Linked DNA regions of Homo sapiens: regions 1 and 2 are each linked to region 3. The links are contacts of gene promoters, found by promoter capture Hi-C in blood cells and fetal thymus (Javierre and others, 2016). All regions are on one chromosome and are shown on one strand. Each heading gives the region's core, a stretch centred on a gene start or on the middle of the fragment in contact. The rest is flanking DNA. Distances are from core to core; before and after follow the strand shown.

Evidence for each region. The method cuts DNA at HindIII sites, captures the fragments that hold promoters and counts their contacts. A CHiCAGO score of 5 or more calls a contact.
Region 1: a fragment that was not itself captured here is called in contact with the fragment with the promoter of VPS35 in region 3 in 3 of 17 cell types (naive CD8 T cells, non-activated CD4 T cells and total CD8 T cells); the score reaches 6.0 in naive CD8 T cells.
Region 2: a fragment that was not itself captured here is called in contact with the fragment with the promoter of VPS35 in region 3 in 4 of 17 cell types (non-activated CD4 T cells, naive CD4 T cells, total CD8 T cells and 1 more); the score reaches 9.1 in non-activated CD4 T cells.

Annotation. Positions count from the first base shown.
Region 1 is chr16:48,258,616-48,261,356 of GRCh38, forward strand. LONP2 (lon peptidase 2, peroxisomal) reads left to right here. Exons shown (of 15, transcript NM_031490.5): 4 at 3-125. Among named protein-coding and RNA genes, the nearest start is that of ABCC11, 12 kb to the left of the region's middle. The HindIII fragment of the contact is 1,394 bases long and covers 574-1,967 here.
Region 2 is chr16:48,302,937-48,305,851 of GRCh38, forward strand. It overlaps LONP2 (lon peptidase 2, peroxisomal), which reads left to right. Exons shown (of 15, transcript NM_031490.5): 11 at 236-369. Among named protein-coding and RNA genes, the nearest start is that of ABCC11, 57 kb to the left of the region's middle. The HindIII fragment of the contact is 4,768 bases long and covers 1-2,915 here.
Region 3 is chr16:46,687,612-46,690,540 of GRCh38, forward strand. VPS35 (VPS35 retromer complex component) reads right to left here and starts at 1,567. Exons shown (of 17, transcript NM_018206.6): 1 at 1,520-1,567. The coding sequence starts at 1,522. ORC6 (origin recognition complex subunit 6) reads left to right here and starts at 2,048. Exons shown (of 7, transcript NM_014321.4): 1 at 2,048-2,159. The coding sequence starts at 2,095. RefSeq lists enhancers at 1,038-1,735, 1,736-2,434, 2,672-2,751, 2,802-2,871 and silencers at 1,272-1,321, 1,472-1,711, 2,032-2,331. The HindIII fragment of the contact is 9,040 bases long and covers 1-2,929 here.

The sequences.
Region 1 (2,741 bases), core at 21-2,520, 1.6 Mb after region 3:
AGATTTTAGATGCTGTGAGCCTAGAGGAGCGGTTCAAGATGACTATACCACTGCTTGTCAGACAAATTGAAGGCCTGAAATTGCTTCAAAAAACCAGAAAACCCAAGCAAGATGATGATAAGAGGGTAAATATTTATTTTAACCCATTTCAGTTTTGAAAAAAAAATAAGGAGAATAAAGAGAGGAACAAAGAAGAAAAGTTTATTGTCTCCTACCACTCGCACTACTGATAAAATTTAGGTGTTTCCCTCTCATCCTTTTCTTTGCCTGGATTTTTTTTTAAAGCATGTAAGCATTTTTCTCACTTTGTTTTGGTTATCATCCAAAAGGATAATTTACTGAGCCATTTCCCCTTTTGTGTTGTTTCCAATGTTTTGTGTATTGTAAACACTAACAAATAACTATGATGGGTGTCTTTGAGTATAACATTTTTTTACTGCATGTAATACTAAGAAACTAATACAAAACTCTTTCTTAAAAGGACTATATGTTGTGTCAAAATTTGGCTGTTTTCAACTTATAATAAGTTTCCATTTTTATTTAGTCAAACTCTTGATCTTTTTTTGTTTTCTAAGCTTAAGTCCTCTAACCTTCAGTGGCTTGATAAATATTCACTTTCCTTTCAGTTTAATTTTAGTTGATTTTTTAAAAAGTATTTAATTCTTTAACCCATATATTATTTTGAAGACAGCAGTTGTATTTTTCCCTCAAATAGCTTTTTGTTTGACTCAACACCACTAATTAAATAATCCTTCCCATCCCCATTATCATCTATTACATTTATATGTATGATGGGATCTGTTTGAAGTCTACCTTGATCTGCTGATTTTACTATTTTTATGTCTGGACAGAGTTTATATTAGGAAGATATATTTGATGTGGACAGGATGTGAAAATGGCATTTCTCTGAAGGTGTTGAGATGCAGCGCTCTGACTTAAGTTGAGGCGTTGAGAATTATGTTAGCAATTTGACGTTCATCAGCGCAGAAGTCTTGTCATCAAAGAGAATACATTGTAGAGAAAGCGGAGCAGAAGGGAAGAACTCCTCCCCGGTGGGACTAGAGAAGGGGCAGTCAAGTAGGCTGAGGAGAGAGATAGGAACAGTGATGATCATGCTGGCGATTAGTACTCCAGGACACCATGCTGTTTAAAACATGCAGAAAGCTGGATTATTTCTGGCTTGAGATCAGGTCAGGGACTCAATTACTCATTTTGTATAGAGAGACAAATCCACTGGGAGTTGCAGAAAACTGCAACTTACTCTCAGTAAAGTTTGCCATCACTTAAAATGAAAGTTTTTCAAAAGTGCTCCAGAAAATAAGCAAGAGACAGTTATTTAAAAAGTAGGAATTAGGATAATATTTGGAGTTAACCTAAAACTCTCTCCTTTTTGTTCCCCTAAGAGTTGAAAAGCACTGTTTTAGCAGTCAGGAAGGAAAAATGCATTAAAAAGTGCTTTTGTCTTAACAATGAAATCACTGATATGCTTATAAAAATCTCACTTTTAAAAAATATATAATATGTTCAGTTTTTTATTTATAATATTTTATCTGCTGATGACTTATGTAAGAATAAAAGCATATATTTAGTACTTGTGTTTTTATAAAATTAAATTTTTATTTACTGCTTTATGTTTTAAACATTTTTATATTTGAATGTATTAAATAGATAAATTTTCCAGGTTAAAAAATAAGTTCTGGGCTGAATGCAGTGGCTCATGCCTGTAATCCCAGCACTTTGGGAGGCCAAGGAAGGAGAATTGCTTGAGGCCAGGAGTTCAAGACCAGGCTGGGCAACATAGTGAGACCTCATCTTTACAAAAAAAATTTAAAAAATTAGCCAGCATGCTGGTGTGTGTCTGTAGTCCCAGCTATTTAGGAAGCTGAGGTGGAAGGATTACTTGAGCCAGGGAGGTTGAGGCTGCAGTAAGCAGTGTTCATGCCATTGCACTTCAGCCTGGATTACAAAGCTTGACCTTGTCTCAAAAAATAAAATGTTCTGGGGGCTTTTAAATTAAATGCTAGTATATAATTTTGCTCCAGTAGTGGTTGTTTATTCATGAATTTCAAGGAGCATATAAGGTAGTTTTAACATATGATAGAGAGATCATAGAGAATACAAAGGCCATTTGACTTTGCACAGAATATGTTTTTTAGATTTGAAAGAACAATTTTGGCAGGATGGGAACAGATGCCGAAGGCTCACTGAAGTAATTGATGAGGTAGGGGATCTGGTGGTTATAGCCACTTGCTGGAGAAGCAGAACTTCACAAGAAAGGAAGTAAATAGTGCGATAGTTAACTAGAAGAAACTAGAGGTAAGAAAAAAATATTTTGAAAGCAGGAAAGCTTTGAAGACAAAATAGAGCCAGTGGTGGAAAGGTTGAAGATGCTAGGAAGAAATTTTGTAATGTAGGAGATAAAATGGAATTTTTTTCAGTCACCAAATGGTAAGAAGTAATGTATTTCAAGAAAATAGTGGCTGCAATAGTAGCTCAAAGAAAGGTAATTCCTAGATGGTTTAATTATTTCTAGTATCCAGTTCCTTGAAATTTGTTTTCTCATGCAAGTATTATTGTAAGCATATACCAAAGAATCATGTCTACCTTACGTTGGTCTACTTCTGCAATTCTGCTGCCTCTCTGTATACAACTGCCTTTTGATTATCATTCTGAACTTCACTTCCTAAAGATAGAGACTGTAGTCATAAAAATATTTATTCAGCACCAGTCATAATCTTATG
Region 2 (2,915 bases), core at 342-2,841, 1.6 Mb after region 3:
TGTAGGATTATAATTCAAGATAATCTGTATAAAGGAAATTGTTGTAGCTGAAAATAGATCAAAGTATTGAAGAAATAACAATAATGAGGAGTTTTAAGTGTGGAAAAGTTAGTACTCAAGAAAGGGTAATGAACTTTTAAATGTACACTGTTTTACCAAAAATGTTAATCACATTACCTCTCTATTTTTTTAAGTGGTATATAGTCAAAAATAAAATATTTTTGTTTGATGACAGGTATACCAGAGAGGCAGGGGTTCGTTCTCTGGATAGAAAACTTGGGGCCATTTGCCGAGCTGTGGCCGTGAAGGTGGCAGAAGGACAGCATAAGGAAGCCAAGTTGGACCGTTCTGATGTGACTGAGAGAGAAGGTTGGTGACCTTGTTCTGGCATTCTCAGGCCTGGTGGCTAGGAGTGAGTGACAGAAGAAGGTTGGGTATGGAGGGGAAGGTGTTGGGTAGTCCTTGGAGCAGTGGCACACATGACTCCACTGTTAAATGCATCCAGTAAGTAATACCTTAATGTTTCAACATATTTCATCCAGAGGATTGTCTTTTACAAATAGCACAGTTTTAACTGGAATAATAATATGAATGCTTTGAGGATATAGGAACTGTATTAGGGTTCACTAGAGGGACAAGACTAATAGGATAGATGTGTATATGAAGAAGAGTTTAAGGAGTATTAACTCACACAATCACATGGTGAAGTCCCACAATAGGCCATCTGCAGGCCGAGGAGCAAGGAAGCCAGTCCAAGTTCCAAAATCTCAAAAGTAGGGAAGCCGACAGTACAGCCTTCAGTCTGTGGCCGAAGCCCCAAGAGCCCCCAGCAAACCACTGGCGTACGTTCAAGAGTCCAAAAGTTGAAGAACTTCGAGTCCAATATTCGAGGGCAAGAAGCATCCAGCACGGGAGAAAGCTGAAGGCCAGAAGATTCAGCAAGTCTGATCCTTCCAGCTTCTTTTCTCTGCTTTATTCTAGCCATGCTGGAAGCTGATTAGATGGTGCCCACTCAGATTGAGGGTGGGTCTGCCTCTCCTAGTCCGCTGACTCAAATGTTAATCTCCTTTGACTATATCCTCACAGACACACTGGAACAATACTTTGCATCCTTCAATCCAAAGTTGAAACTCACTATTAACCATCACAGTAACTTTCTCCAGATGTATAATGATGGTGTACGTTATGTATGGGTTCTGGTGTTATCTTATTTCTTTCTGACCCAGACAGTTAAGTCTTTAAATAATTTATAACATAAAAAGTTTTTACAACATAAGACAATCCATGCTGTTCAGGTACTGCAAGGACAGACCTTTGTACTCTGGAATAGCTCCATGTGTAATAATTTTTCACACATTTTCTTTTATGGATAAACAACTAAATGTAATTTAAATTATTCTTTAAAAAATTATTGTGAAGGTGTTCTATTACTGGAATTAATCAAATGTGGATGTTCCTTTGGTATCTACTTAAAATGTTTTAACTGGCCAGGCACAGTGGCTCATGCCTTTGATCCCAGCACTTTGGAAGGTTGAGGCAGGCAGATGACTTGAGGTCAGGAGTTTGAGACCAGCCTAGCCAACACGGTGAAACCCCGTCTCTACTAAAAATACAAAAATTAGCCAGGCGTGGTGTTGGGCGCCTGTAGTCCCCGCTACTCTGGAGGTTGAGGCAGGAGAATCGCTTGAGCCCAAAAGTCAGAGGTTGCAGTGAGCAAAGGTCATGCCCACTGCACTCCATCTGGGCAACGGAGCGAGACTCCATCTCAAAAAAATAAATAAGTAAATAAAATAAAATGTTTTAATTTCTTGCCCCAAAACTGTAAGGGGTCTCAGTTCATCATATCATGCTGTTATGCAGTTTGCCAAAACTTGCTTTAACAAACATGAGTTGTAGGGAATTGACAATTTCTTTCATAGTAAAGAGATTTATTAGATTTTTCTATCATTTCCATAGCTGTTTCCAGAAAGGAGTTGGATGACTGTGATTAAAGAACCATAATTTATGGTGGACCCAGTTGAACAGACACAGCCAAATGTCTTTCTTGTTTTTCCATCAGTCGCTGAACACAGTGCATTTTACAGCAGTAGCATCAGAGTCAGCTTTCACAGAATCCTTCTGTGGCCAGTACAGTGCTTCACCCCTGCCTCCCCACGCCTGGAACCTCACTGGTTCATTTTCTCCAGAGAGCGAAGCTCCTATCTTCTGTTGGATTGGAGGGAGGCAGTGCCTTCATTATGTGGAGTAGGAGTAGAGGTAGTGAGTTCTAATTGTATTTTATCCAGACTTTAAAACTTGTGCTTTATTTTTATTATTTTTATTTTATTTTACTTTTTGAGATGGAGTCTCGCTCTGTCGTCCAGGCTGGACTGCGGTGGCACAATCTTGGCTCACTGCAACCTCCGTCTCCGAGGTTCAAGTGATTCTCCTGCCTCAGCCTCCCCAGTAGCTGGTACTGTAGACGGATGCCACCACGCCCGGCTAATTTTTGTATTTTTAGTAGAGACAGGGTTTCACCATGTTGGCCAGGCTGGTCTTCAACTGCTAACCTCAGGTGATCTGCCCACCTTAGCCTGCCAAAGTGCTGGGATTACAGGTGTGAGCCACTGCGCCTGGCTTTATTTTTATTTTTTATTTTTACTCTGCCTTGGGAGAATCTAGAAAACTTTTGCCTTTTGTCCCACTCTTCATCCATGCTTTCAGGGCTACCTTGAATTCTTTAGCTTTTGTAGACTTTTAGGACCCACATCAACTTGTTGTTCTCTATCTCTAGCCCCACAAATGTTGAGGTTTCTGCTTTCTCTAGCCTGTTAAGTGTTGGTTACTTTTTGTCCATGTACTTTTTGTTTCCCAAAATTTTGTCAGCATCTCTTGTCAGCTGATGTCCTCTTTGTCATTATTTTTGTTCTTGTGGG
Region 3 (2,929 bases), core at 317-2,816:
ACAAGCGTGTCTCCCCCAGTAGCCTCTTAAGTTCGACATTGGTACCCAGGGCCACAGTCCGTGACACTGAAGGCACACAAGATGTTTGATGAATTGAAGTGGATTCTGGAATTTTAGGGCTGGGAAGGGCCAAAGGGGCCGCCAACACTTGCTTTCGGATGCAAAAGTGCGACACCAAGAAGACTAAGCGAGCTGCCTAAATTATAGACAGTGACTGTGAAAGAACGAATACTCAAGTTTCCTTTCCCAATAAAATTCATGAGGACAAGACTGTGTGTCTGGCTGATTGCTCCCAACTGGTTCACCCAACAAAGAATCGGAGTGTGTAATACATCCTCAATTAAGTGTTTTCCATTACAAAACAATATAAATGTCAATCCATAAACGCTGGAAACACACAAATCCTAAAGTTAAATTTTGCGCCGGTCTTGTATCAATTCCCAATTATAAAAATCCTGAGAAACAGGCAAAATCACCTTGTACGGCAACACGTTATATGAAAATAGTATTTGTAAAACACTTAATCCTTTCTGGCATTAAGACATTTAAAGTGAAATCTGTTTCCAGGCTTACAGATTTACAGAAGCCTATCTACACAGAGTGAGTAAGGTAATTAAAGCGGACATACAGTATATACTCAAAAAATTTATTTACACAGTGCAGGCTATGTTAAACGCTAATAAAATGCAAGTGACAACTTGCCTTTGTGGGAACCAGACACAAAGATTCACATTTTGAGGAAGTTCAAGTTTACCGGCCAACAGCCACACCACGATTTGCTGCCGTCATAGACGGGCCCTAAGGAGAAGTACTGCTTCCAGCAAGTCAAATACTTGGATTTTATCAATGGCGAGACAAAAGAGGCAAGGTGCGCCCAATGCACAAATGCTAAAGTAAACAATCAGTCTCCTTTGCGACCGTCAGGATTAGAAGACAGCCTGAGTCCTTCCAGGAAATTCATGTAAGCAGGTCCCCAGAACTCGCTGACAAACACTGCAGCCGAAGGCGGGTATGAGGCCAAGAAAGGCCAAGGAATCACTGCGACCCCTCCAGGAGGGCGTGGGGACGGCCGAGCACAACTAGGCACAAAGGTAGAAACGCAACATCTGGGCGGGTCCCGGCGCCACCTCCGAGTCTCAGGGCCTCCACGCGCCCCGGGGGCCAGACGCTCAGACCTAGGACTACCGGTCCCCTCGTGGTAGGCAGGTGACCGATTCCACTTAAAGGAGGCCGCAGGCCTTCATGGACCCCAAAGCCTACATGCCAAGTCAACCCCACAGAGAGGCCGCCCCGTCTCTCAGCAACGGCCGCAGCCAAGAGCCGCCGCCCACCCCGGCCCGGATCAGCCTGCCCGCGGCCTTCCTCCTGCTGTCCCCTATCCCGCAGGCCAAATCGGGCTGGTCTTAATCCCGAACGGTCTGTGGGGCCCCTTCTCCACTCGCTGGAGTGCGGGGCGGTGGGAGAGAGCAGGGGCTACAAGGAGGGTCGACCCAGGTGCCACTGCCCCCTCAGCACTCACCATGGCGACTCCCCAGAGCCTGCAGCAAGCAGCACCCGCCCCGCGCGTAGCCTCCCGCGGTCATGTGACGCTGCGGCCCCTCCAAGCCCCGCCCTCTCTAGCCCCGCCCCCGGGCCCTACAGGCGGCTCATTGATTGGCCTACTTCTAGGAACCCGAGTCTCGCGTGCTTATTGGCCCTGTCACTTAACGCTAGATGGACGGACCTGAGCGCCAGCCAATCTCACCACAGCGTGCGAGAGTGGGCGGAGCAGTGCAGGGCAGTGGGGATCGCCCGGCGGCAGGCAGGAGACAACAGGAGGGAAAGGCAGTGTGTGATGAGTTTGTCAAGAAGGAATGGAAGGAGGGGGAGCCGACAAGTCCACGTTCACCGCATCTGCGTTGGCGATTGCGCTATTGATGCGCATGCGCAAAAGGAAGACCCTGATTGGTTTGTGGGACGGTCTCAACGTCCTGTCCTAACCAATCCAGATGCGCCGGGGGTGGGGCCTGGCTCTCACTGGCCGGTGCAGCCTTTGCGCGCGGGTTTCGTTGACCCGCGGCGTTCACGGGAATTGTTCGCTTTAGTGCCGGCGCCATGGGGTCGGAGCTGATCGGGCGCCTAGCCCCGCGCCTGGGCCTCGCCGAGCCCGACATGCTGAGGTGAGTTCGGCCGCGCAAGACCAGGGCTGGGCTTCCGCCTCGCGGCCCTGGGCCCTCAGGTGAGGCCCGCGCCCTTCCCAGGCGACGGGCGGCGGGGGAGTGACGGGGAGCGCTGGGGCCGGGCGGGGTTTAGGGCCTACTTCAAGAAAAACTTCTCGGCCGTGAGCTTGAATGAGATGGCAAGAAGGGCGATAGCAAACGGCGATGGCACACGTCCCTGGGAACAGCCAGCCCTGTCCGTGGGTAGAAAAATGAGCCAGGGAGAACTTTCCGTTCATTCCGCCAACGCCTACTGCAGTCGGGTTTATAGCGGGGAACCCGACAACGAGGCGCAGACCCCGCTGTCTGTAAGGGCGAGGACTGTGTAGACCTTAACCGGGCAATGCTCCTGAGCCACTGGGCTTGGGGTGGAGCGCGGCCTAGCGGCTGCCTTTAACACAAAGAAACAAACAAAACTCGGAAAAGCAGGCGCCGTTCCCGCTGAGGCCGGATTGATGGCAGATGCTAGGCGAGGAAAGATATGGCAAGAGCAGCCCAGGCAGGGGCGACAGCTCCTGTAAAAGCGTTGAGATGGGAAGCGGGATCCGGGGTTCGAAATAAAGCCATTGTAGCTAAAACGTGGAGCAGTCAGGCGAGGGAAGGCAAGGAAAACAGCACTTAAAAGATTTGAAGACAAACCTGCAGGACTCGGTAGTCATTTAGAACAGTGGTTCTCAAAATGTGGTTCCTGGACCAGCAACAGCCATATCATCTTGTCACTTGTTAGAAAT